2 separate regions of the Homo sapiens genome follow, and region 1 is linked to region 2. Evidence: promoter capture Hi-C in 16 types of primary human blood cells and fetal thymus (Javierre and others, 2016). All regions are on one chromosome and are shown on one strand. Each heading gives the region's core, a stretch centred on a gene start or on the middle of the fragment in contact. The rest is flanking DNA. Distances are from core to core; before and after follow the strand shown. Region 1 holds the start of FOXE1 (forkhead box E1). Region 2 holds the start of XPA (XPA, DNA damage recognition and repair factor).

What was found. Contacts are between HindIII fragments. The CHiCAGO score rates a contact against its expected background, and 5 or more counts as called.
Region 1: the fragment with the promoter of FOXE1 here is called in contact with the fragment with the promoter of XPA in region 2 in 3 of 17 cell types (megakaryocytes, endothelial precursors and erythroblasts); the score reaches 6.6 in megakaryocytes.

Annotation. Positions count from the first base shown.
Region 1 is chr9:97,850,416-97,855,079 of GRCh38, reverse strand. It overlaps FOXE1 (forkhead box E1), which reads right to left and starts at 1,854. Exons shown (of 1, transcript NM_004473.4): 1 at 1-1,854. The coding sequence starts at 1,165. The coding sequence ends at 44. PTCSC2 (papillary thyroid carcinoma susceptibility candidate 2) reads left to right here and starts at 2,000. Exons shown (of 11, transcript NR_147055.1): 1 at 2,000-2,164. RefSeq lists an enhancer at 2,886-3,387. The HindIII fragment of the contact is 6,931 bases long and covers 1-3,786 here.
Region 2 is chr9:97,695,769-97,701,116 of GRCh38, reverse strand. XPA (XPA, DNA damage recognition and repair factor) reads left to right here and starts at 3,777. Exons shown (of 6, transcript NM_000380.4): 1 at 3,777-3,996. The coding sequence starts at 3,825. PTCSC2 (papillary thyroid carcinoma susceptibility candidate 2) reads left to right here. Exons shown (of 11, transcript NR_147055.1): 11 at 1,046-1,492. It also overlaps the pseudogene KRT18P13. RefSeq lists a silencer at 3,616-3,715 and enhancers at 4,266-4,315, 4,326-4,385. The HindIII fragment of the contact is 4,221 bases long and covers 2,193-5,348 here.

The sequences.
Region 1 (4,664 bases), core at 605-3,104, 160 kb before region 2:
GTGAACAGCCGATGTGTCTATGAGTTTTCGTCCCTACGCTGGCTCACATGGCGGACACGAACCGATCTATCCCACCGGGATAAGCGGCAGCATGGCGAGCATGGTAGGCGCCTGCACTGGCCCCTCCGAGCTGCCCGCCAGGGTTGTAGCAGGCTCCCAGCGCTCCGAACTGGCCGGGCGACGTGCGCCCGTAGAAGTCCACCGTGGTCTCCACGCCGCCACTGCTGCCGCCCGCTGGGGGCGAAGCGGGTCCCGCCAGGCGGCCAGCAGCGGCAAAGATCGCACTGCCGGCGCCCTGCGGGTACGCGCCGTCGGGGCCCGCGTAGGCAGCCGCATAGGCGGAGGGGTTGGCCGGCCGGGCCCCGGTGCAGCCTGCGGGCTGGTAGCCGGTGGTGGTAGCGGGGGCGCCGGCGGAGGCAAAGGCGCAAGAGCCGCCGGGCCCCGACGGTGCGGGCCCCAGCTCTGGGCTGAGCGGCCGCTCAGGAACCAGGCCGAAGACGCGGCAAGGGCCGGGCGACGCCGCGGGGTAGTAGACTGGAGGCGGCGCGGCCAGCGACGGCGGCGCGTAGCCTGCATAGACGGCGCCCGGGTAGGGGGGGCGCGCGGCGGGCACCGCGCCTGGGAAGATGGCGGCGGCGGCGGCGGCGGCGGCGGCGGCGGCTGCGGCAGCCGCCGCGTCGTGCATGTAAGCCGGGTAGGTGGAGAGGTCCGAGCGCTTGAAGCGCTTGCGGCGGCGCAGGAAGCTGCCGCTCTCGAACATGTCCTCCGCGTTGGGGTCAAGCGCCCAGTAGTTGCCCTTACCCGGGCGGCCGGCCTCGCGCGGGATCTTGAGGAAGCAGTCGTTGAGTGTGAGGTTGTGGCGGATGCTGTTCTGCCACTTTTTGGGGTTGTCGCGGTAGAAGGGGAAGCGCTCGGTGATGAACTTGTAGATGCCGCCCAGCGTGAGGCGGCGCTCGGGCGCGTGCGCGATGGCCATGGCGATGAGCGCGATGTAGCTGTAGGGCGGCTTCCCGCGCTGCAGGGGGCGCTTGCGGCGCCGCCCGCCCGCCCCGCGGCCCGTGGCCTCCCCTGGGACCCCGGCCCCTGCTGCCGTCTCGCCGCGCTCTTCCTTCACGGTAGCCAGCACCTCCGGCTGCGGCGGCGGCGGCCCGCTCTCGGCAGTCATGGCGCGGGCGTCCCGCACCCCCGGGCTCTGGATCCCCGCGGCTGTCGGGGGGCGGGGGCGGGCCTGGCGTCCCCGGAACGGACGCTCGGCCCTTCTGCGGAGAGCTCAGGGGATCGTCGCGGGCTGGCCCCGAGAGCCCAGCGGCCCAGGCTGGCACGCGCTGGAGGCTCAGCGTCCGTGGTCTGGGGCTGGCGCGGTGCAGACAGAGGCTCGGGAGTGACCCGCTAGCCGACGGCTCAGCCCGCGTGGTGCTTCTCGAGGCGGGCAGCGGCGGTGGCCTCGTGACCGGGACTGGACTCTGGTCTCCGGCTGAAGGGTCCCTTGCGCGCTGGTGCCGGGCGGTCGAGGGGTCCGGAAGTGATCCCTGGGTTGGGGTGGCTGCAGCTGGTCTGTGGTGCCCGCTAGTTTAGGATTACTGCCTAGGTTGTGCGCGCAGAAGAGGCTTCGGGCTCGAAGGCCAGAGCGAGGGCAGTTAGTACTGGCGCTGGGCGATCTGGCGGGGGCCGCCCATGCCCTGCCCCCGAGGCCAAGGTGGCCGTAAGCGCCACGGGCAGAGAGGCGAGGCGGGGGCAGCGAGGTCGGGGCGCGGGCCCAGGCGGGGCGACCTGAGGCTGGTCCTCTCCACGGCGTGGGTCTCCAGCCCTGCGGACCGCTGGCGAGGCGCTCCCCTGCACACACCGGACCGGCTCCTCCCTCCGCCGGCTTCCCCTCCTTAAAGGGGCCACGAAGCGTGGGGCGGCACCGGTTCCCTGCCCGCCCCCCGACTGCCCGCCCCCCGGGGCCCGGGCGCACCTCCCCAGGTAGGAGCAGCTGTGGCGGCGCGGTAGGAGCCCCACAGCGTCAGGGCGGGGAGGGCGCTTGGAGATCCCCCGGGTCGGCCCCCTCCGCACCCCGATCGACTGAGGCCCGGAGAGTTCAGGAACCGGCTCGGGAGACCTCAGCGCCCGAACTCGGAGTTTTCGGACTTTTCAGGCCTCTGCCAAGGGCTTGGACTCGCAGGTGAAAGGACGGGCTCATCTCACTTTTTTGTCCTGAGAGGGTGAGAATTGGCCGAGAGGGCGCTTGGTTTTTGTGGGAATGGGGAGGGAGAAGTTCCAGGAGACTGGCTCCCCGGGCCTTTCAGGATGGTTTCCAAACCCCAATCGTGGCTGCCACAGCCACTCGGCACTCCAGTCCCCCCATCTTTCGAATGAGTATTCCTAGGCCCGAAAGGGAAGGTGACTTGCCATGGCCCCACTGCGGCTTCTCCGCTTAGCGGAGTCTCCAACCTGCGTCTCCTTTAGGACTGCGCTTCCCAACTGTGTGGTAGAGGTAGCCGCTTTCCCTTTTTGGGCCCCAGGTCCCTCGACTGTACCGGGGTCTGGATCTCTCAAGAGTCCTTGCGTGGTAGATATTTAGGGATAGGCCAATCACCACCCCCAATCATCCGTCTTTGAGAGGCCCAGGATCTGTCTCTATTTGATGGATAGTGGTGCACGGATTAAAGACGACGCAGGATAGGTAACCTCCTCCTCCAATCCCCCGGGACCAGGGTAGCTCTGAAGACCCCCAGAGGCAGCCAAGCAGCCCCTTCCCGCAGCGGGGAGTGAGGGCTGCGGGTAATGGGGGAGTGGGAAGAGAGCGGTGGCCGGGTGGGCGCGTCTCCGGGGGAAGGGGCGGGCAGTCGGGACACGTTTGCTTCATGGGTGTCCAATTTCTGAGTTCCTTTCCTGCTGTCCCTGAGCCGGAACTTGGTCCTAACCTGAGATCCTCGCGGCGCGGCCCCTCTGGCCCGGGTTCGTTCCCTGGCCATTCACTGGGAGATCCAGGGCCTGTCCTTGTCCCCTCGCAGGGCCTCAGTGTTCTACTCTGTTAAATAGCAGCTGGAGGGCGTGTGCTGATCTCCGAGGCCCCTGCTACGTATAGGATTCCGGGCCTTGGCGCGGGTTCCAGTGGCTCCAGCCCGGACGCAGCTTTCCGGGGTGGGGGGGGGGGGCGGGCCGGGGCTGTGGGTGCAGAGCCGCGCGGATGGTGGTGCCAGGTGAGTGTGGGAGATCCCAAGACGAGAGTTCTGGCCAGTAACGGGTGGCATGCCTTCCAGGGTTTTAGTCGCGTTCTTCGTGGCGGTGAGCTGAGGGCAGGCTAAGCCCGGCCAAGCGTTGGGCAGCTGCCTTCGGAAGAGCGAGGCAAAGCCCAGATCCTTGCTCCGTCGACCCGGTGTGTGGAAACGCTCAAAGCGTTTGCTTGACAACCTTCTGCGGCAGAGGGTTGGTCGAACGAAGGGAGAGGGGCTTTACACTCGCTAAACAAAACTCCTGGTTTCCTTCTTCCCAAGTAATGGAGAAGCAAAAAACCCAGATTTCGTCCTGTTTCGTTTTTACAAAGGAGGAAAAACTTCAAATTTTAAAATTTTTAACTGGATTATATTATAGGCACCTTTTAATACGGGATTTCGTGGCTCTCAGTAACTTTCAAGATTCTGAGATTCAGATATCTAGATTTTAAATTCTGGACGACCGTTGTCCTAACGTGATTCCATAAATCTAAAGAATGCGATCCTGCGATCCTGCGACCCTGTAATTCTAAGATTCCAAGACTGGGAGTCTAACTTTGACTATGCTTATATTCCTTTGACTTAAGCTTCTAGTCAAAGTCTAAAAACCTATGTATTAAGATACTGGGACTAAACCAGGCACGGTGGCGGGAGCCTGTAGTCCCAGCTACTGGAGGTTAAGGCAGGAAGATCGCTTGAGCCCAGGAGTTCCAGGCTGTAGTGCACAATCATTGTGCCTGTGAGTAGCCACAGCACTCCAGCCTGTGCAGCAAAGGGAGACCCGGTCTCTTAAAAGCAAAACAAAACAAACAAAAAACGGGGACCTAAGATTTTGTGCCTGAAAATATGATGCCACTCTTGAAGCTGCCACTTCTCCAGTTTTTTATTTTTTCCACTCTAAGTTATATATTATTTAATTTGAATTCCTGTTTAGGAATGTCTGATTGGAAGAATTTGAATCCTGTAAATCCGCAGTTCTCTCCTTCCTTAATTCTAAAATGTTAGTGCTGGATCTGCTATTCTGTAGTTCAAATAATCTGATTCCAATAATTCTTCTAATGTTTGTGATTATATGCTGTAATGATTAGTCCCATGACTTTATGATCCTCTACTTTTAAGCTGCAACGACTATGGCTAAAAGCCTTCTTGTCTCAGGATTTTCTGTTCTTCAGTGTCTTGTGTCTGTGACCTCATTCTTCTAGAATTCTGATGGTTTTCTCAAACTTTGTTAATATCAAGCTACTCCTGTGGCCGAGACCAAATACCTAGCATCATGAGATTAGAATTTCCAAGATCATGATTCTAAGATTTTCGCAAACCAAGGACCCCTAAATTTCTATTTCATAAATGTTCTCTTTGAATAATGCATTTGAAGATTCTGTGAGTCCACAGTGAGTTCACATTAAATGATTTGGTGAGTACACAGGTCACAAGTTTACCCGTTTGGATCAAAACCATACACAAAAA
Region 2 (5,348 bases), core at 2,528-5,027:
AGGAGGAAGGCTTGCCTGGAGGTGTGAAGTGGTATCTCACTGTGCCTTAATTTGCATTTCCCTAATGACTAATGATGAATATATTTTCATGTGTTTGTTGGCCATCAGTACATCCTCTTCGGAAAAATGTCAATTTAAGTCCCTTGCTCATTTTTAAATTGGGTTGTCTTTCTGTTGTTGAGCTGAAAGTGTTTGTTATAAATTCTGGATACTAGACCCTTATTGGATATCTGATTTGCAAATATTTTCTCCCATTCTGTGGGGTTTTTACCCCAATTTTCTTCATAGTGTTCTTTGACGTAGAAAAGTTTTCAATTTTTTTTTGACCTCTGAACTTTTTATTGGCCTCCTGCTCCCCAAAGTGTACCCTGCTTCTGCTGGCTTAATGTCTCAGAACTTTGGTGTCGTTGGTCAGACACCACTTTGCCATCCACTATCCGGCGGGTGGTGGTCTTTTGGATGGTTTGCATGGAGTTGCTGCTGTCCAGGGCATCACCAAGATTGAAGTCCTTGCCATCCTCCAGCAGGCAGCAGTAGGCAGTGCTCTCAGCCTCCAGCTTGACCTTGATGTTCAGCAGGGCCTTGTACTCTTGAGCCTGGCACTGTCCCTCTGCCCGGGTCTGTGCCAGCTCTGACTCCAGGTGCAGCAGGATCCCGTTGAGCTGCTCCCTCTGCAAGGCATAGCGGGCCTCGACCTCCCTCAGGCTGTTCTCCAAGCTGGCCTTCAGATTTCTCATGGAGTCCAGGTTGATCTTCAAGGACTGGACTATACATCTCAGCTCCGTGAGCATCATCCCAGCAGCTCCAACCTCGGTGGACTGCGTGGTGACCACTGAGGTGCTCTCCTCAATCTGCTGAGACCAGTATTTGTCCAGCTCCTCTCAGTTCTTCCGAGCCAGCTCATCATATTGGGGCCGGATGTCTGCCATGATCTTGGCAAGGTCCCGAGACTGGGGGCATCTACCTCCATGGTCAACCCAGAGCTGGCAATCTAGGCTTGTAGGCCTTTTGTAATGCCCAACCTCATTTTTCCTTTTTCACCTAGGCTTGTTTCCACCTGAACAGACTCTCCCTTAGCTAAGAGAACCAGACAAACTCCATCTTGGCTCTTTCACTGGCAGCCCCTTCCTCAAGGACTTAACTTGTGCAAGCTGACTCCCAGCACATCCAAGAATGCAATTAACTGATAAGATACTGTGGCAAGCTATATCCACAGTCCCCAAGAATTCATCTGTTTGATAACGCCCAAAGCCCTGCATCTATAACCTTGTAATAGTCTTAAAGCCCCTGCATCTGGAACTGTTTACTTTCCTGTAACCATTTATCCTTTTAACTTTTTGACTACTTAACTTCTGTAAAATTGTTTTAACTAGACGACCCCCCCTTTCTAAACCAAGGTATAAAAGTTAATCAAGCCCCTTCCTCGGGGCCGAGAGAATTTTGAGCGTTAGCCGTCTCTCGGTCGCCGGCTAATAAAGGACTCTTAATTCATCTCAAAGTGTGGCGTTTTTTTAACTCGCTCGGGTACAACACTTTTACTTCCTCTTCGTGGTTCTTCTTCATGAAGAGCAGCTCCTCCTTGAGAGCTTCGATCTCTGTCTCCAGCTGCAGCCGAGTGACACTGGTGTCATCAGTGACCTCCGGAGCCCATGGATGTGGCTCTCCACAGACTGGCGCATGGCCAGCTCTGTCTCATACTTGACTCTAAAGTCATCAGCAGCAAGACCAGCATTGTCAATCTGCAGAACAATGCAGGCATTGTCCACAGTATTTGTGAAGATCTGAGTCCTCAGGCCCTCAATGGTCTTGAAGTAATGGCTCATCTCTGACCTGGGGTCCCTTCTTCTACAGGTGCTCCTGGATTTTACTCTCCAGCTTCCAGTTCTTGGCCTCCAGGCTCCTCATTCTGTCCAGGTAGGAGGCCAGGCAGTTGTTCAGGTTTTGCACGGTCTCCTTCTTGTTCTGGATGCCTCTCATTCCTGCCAGACCCCTGGCCATCCCCGCGGCCAGGCCCCCGGAACCCATGCTGCTCAGGTAGCTGGTGGAGCGGGACATGGAGATCCGGGAACCAGAGCCCCCGTGCCTGTACAGACGCTGGCTATGCTGCTGACCAGCCGGACACCGTAGCTGGGTGCCTGGACAGAACCCAGGGACCGGTAGTTGGTGGAGAAGGTGGAGCGAGTGGTGAAGCTTATGCTGTCCAGGGAGGAGAGTGAGAGGACAGGACTCAGGCTTTGCCGACGACTTTAATTTTTTTTTGAGACAAGATGTTATTGTGTTGCCCAGGCTGGAGTGTAGTGGTGCCATCACAGCTCACTGCAGCCTTGACCTCCTGAGATGGGTTCTTGTTACATTGCCCAGGTTGGTCTTGAACTCCTGGTCTCAAGCAATCCTCCTGTGTTGGCCTCCCAAAGGGCTGGGATTACAGACATGAGCCACTGCACCTTGCCAATTATTATTATTTTTTAATAGTGACAGGGTCTCACTGTGTTGCCTCAGCTTGTCTTGAACTCATGACCTCAAGTCATCCTCCTGCCTTGGCCTCCCAAACTGTTGAGATTACAGGTGTGAACCACTGTGCCCAGCCTAGTTTTTAATTTTAATGAAGTCCAGCTTTTTTTCTTTTGTTGCTTGTGCTTTTGATGTTATGGAATTTGAAATAGTTTCACCTGGGCAAGATTGATGGGTAGGGAGAAAGAAGGATCTGAGGGGAAGGGAGATGGGGATGGCTTGAGATTCTATCTCCAATTCAACCTAAGATTTCAGCAGGTAACTGCTTTATACGAGGTTTTGCAGCTTTATGTATATATGACCGATAAATTAGAACACTGAATTGTGTTTCTGAAAGGTTAACCATTGAACATTAGTGGGAAACATCAGTGTGTGAGGTTGTCTTTCTAAAAGCCAGTCCTAAATGGTACATGTAGTAATTAGAAGTTAATGTTTTCTGGTTTCAATTAAGCATTATTTGTAACAAAGGGAAAGCATACATTTTTGGGAAAGCCTGCTATGTTTCTTTTGTTACACTAGCCACACTTTTGGGAAGTCAGGATATTTGGCCCAGATCCAAACCCACTGTCTACCTGGCAGTAGCTCATCCTCACTGAAGGAATATTCCATGGGAAAGATAGCCAACCTTATGCATATCAGCCTTGGAGCAAGTCCTGCATTTGCCTGAGGTCACACAGCAAGTTAACTGGGAGTTTCAACCCAGGTCTTCTCATTTTAAATCTAAGGCTGTGTCTCTAGGCCGTGTATCCAACATAAAATCAGGACTATCATCTGTTGGGCTCTATGACTGGCACTACTACTACTCACTGTTACCATTTTTTGAGGTCTTCTACGTGCCAGGTTATTGTCCTGGCAATCTAATCCTCCCAAAGACTCGGTAAATGGTTCCATAATTATCCTCATTTTACCACTGAAGAAACTGAACTCTGGTTAAATAACTTGCCCAAGGTCACACAGACTTTAACTGTCAAGAGCTCAGACTTAACCCAGGCCTGACTCCAAAGCCTATACTCTGAATCACCAAGCGAGACCTATTTTAAAGGTGACCAGGTCGTGAGATATGATCTCAGCACGGACCCTTCTCCCGGATGACAAGAGAGCAGGTAGTTAGGCGGGTACTCCGTGTCCGCGCATACCCAGACTCCGCCCAGCGCCCGGGCAGGCCACCCCGAGCCCCTTAACTGCGCAGGCGCTCTCACTCAGAAAGGCCGCTGGGTGCGGGGAGCGCAGAGGCGGTGCAGGGCGGCTGGCTCGCCTCGGCGTGCAGTGCGCGTGCGTGGAGCTGGGAGCTAGGTCCTCGGAGTGGGCCAGAGATGGCGGCGGCCGACGGGGCTTTGCCGGAGGCGGCGGCTTTAGAGCAACCCGCGGAGCTGCCTGCCTCGGTGCGGGCGAGTATCGAGCGGAAGCGGCAGCGGGCACTGATGCTGCGCCAGGCCCGGCTGGCTGCCCGGCCCTACTCGGCGACGGCGGCTGCGGCTACTGGAGGTTTGGGCCGCGTCCGCGCTTTCCCCTTCCCTCTCCCCGCCTCCCCGGTCCCCAGACTGGCTCGTGCAAGCCGAGTCCCGGGGCCCGGGGGTCGCGTCAACTCCGCTGGCGTATGTGTGCAGATTCTCCCCGAGTCGGAGAGGGAATCCGCCCAGCCAGCCGCCTTGTCAAAGCGTCCTGTCCACGACCACAGAGCGTTCCTCTGTCGCACGCGGGCCTCCTGACCCCCAGCCCCGGGCCTTCTTCGCTGCACCTCGGCTGCTGGCAGCTTCGATTTTTCGTTTAGGGATGCAGCCGCCCCGGCCGGGAGGTGTCAGCCACTGCCAGGTGTCAGGGCCTCAGCTGTCCCGGAAAGAGGAGTTAGACTAGTTCTTGATTCTGGCCTCTATACCTAGAACTAGTTGATGGAAGAGGCAGATCTTGGTGTTTGTTAGGGAGAGCTTTCAACAATTAGAGTTGCCAAAAGTGCAATGGATTGCTTCTCATGAGCTTCCCGTTACTAGAAGCGCTCAAATAGGAACTGGAAGAACGCTTACTTATGTGGAGGAGAGGAGATTCAGCAATCAGAATCTCCTACTCAGCAATCAGAAGAAGGGACTGGATAGTAAACCTTTAAGATTCTAATCCATAGATTCCATGAGTCTATTTCTTGGACATGTGACCTCTGCGATTTCTTGGCAAAAACTAGTTGCTCAAAACGTGTTTATTGATTGAAGTAAATTAAGGACTGATCTCTCATTGCAGATTATTCTCTTATAGAATTTGCCACTGGGGTCAACTAATAATCTTTAACAGGATACTTAAAATATAGTTTGGTTGACAGGCAGTTCTTCAGGGCTGCCTCTATAACATGAAGTACATGTGTTCCTAAAGCTCTATACTGCCCTTTGTCGAGCACAGTTTAGAGCTGTATTACTCTTTTTTATCAGCCAGATGTAGTGAGAGTGAGAAGAGTCTGAGGCTGGCAGCATGTCTTGATGTTCATACTAACACCGAAACTGCAAATTCCAGCTACTTTTGATGGTACTGGTCTCATCCTTTCTACTTTATAGTGGTTACCTTTTATTCCTTTCTAAACTTGAGGCACGCTAGAGTCAGACAGAAAGTTCATTTGCACTGATTAATTCATAGTCATGATTCCATAAAGGTTTCCAGGTCTACGACATGGCTGTGGAACGGAAGGTGCAAAATAGCAAAAACTGACATTAAATTAAACTTTTGATCATGGAAAGCAAGGTAGAATGAACATTCTTTAAGATTTCTTAGGCAGTTCCCCAAGAACTGAACTGTATTGTAGCATTGTGTACAACCCACCATGTTTCAAGAGTTAGGTAAGTGCTGAGATTTTTATC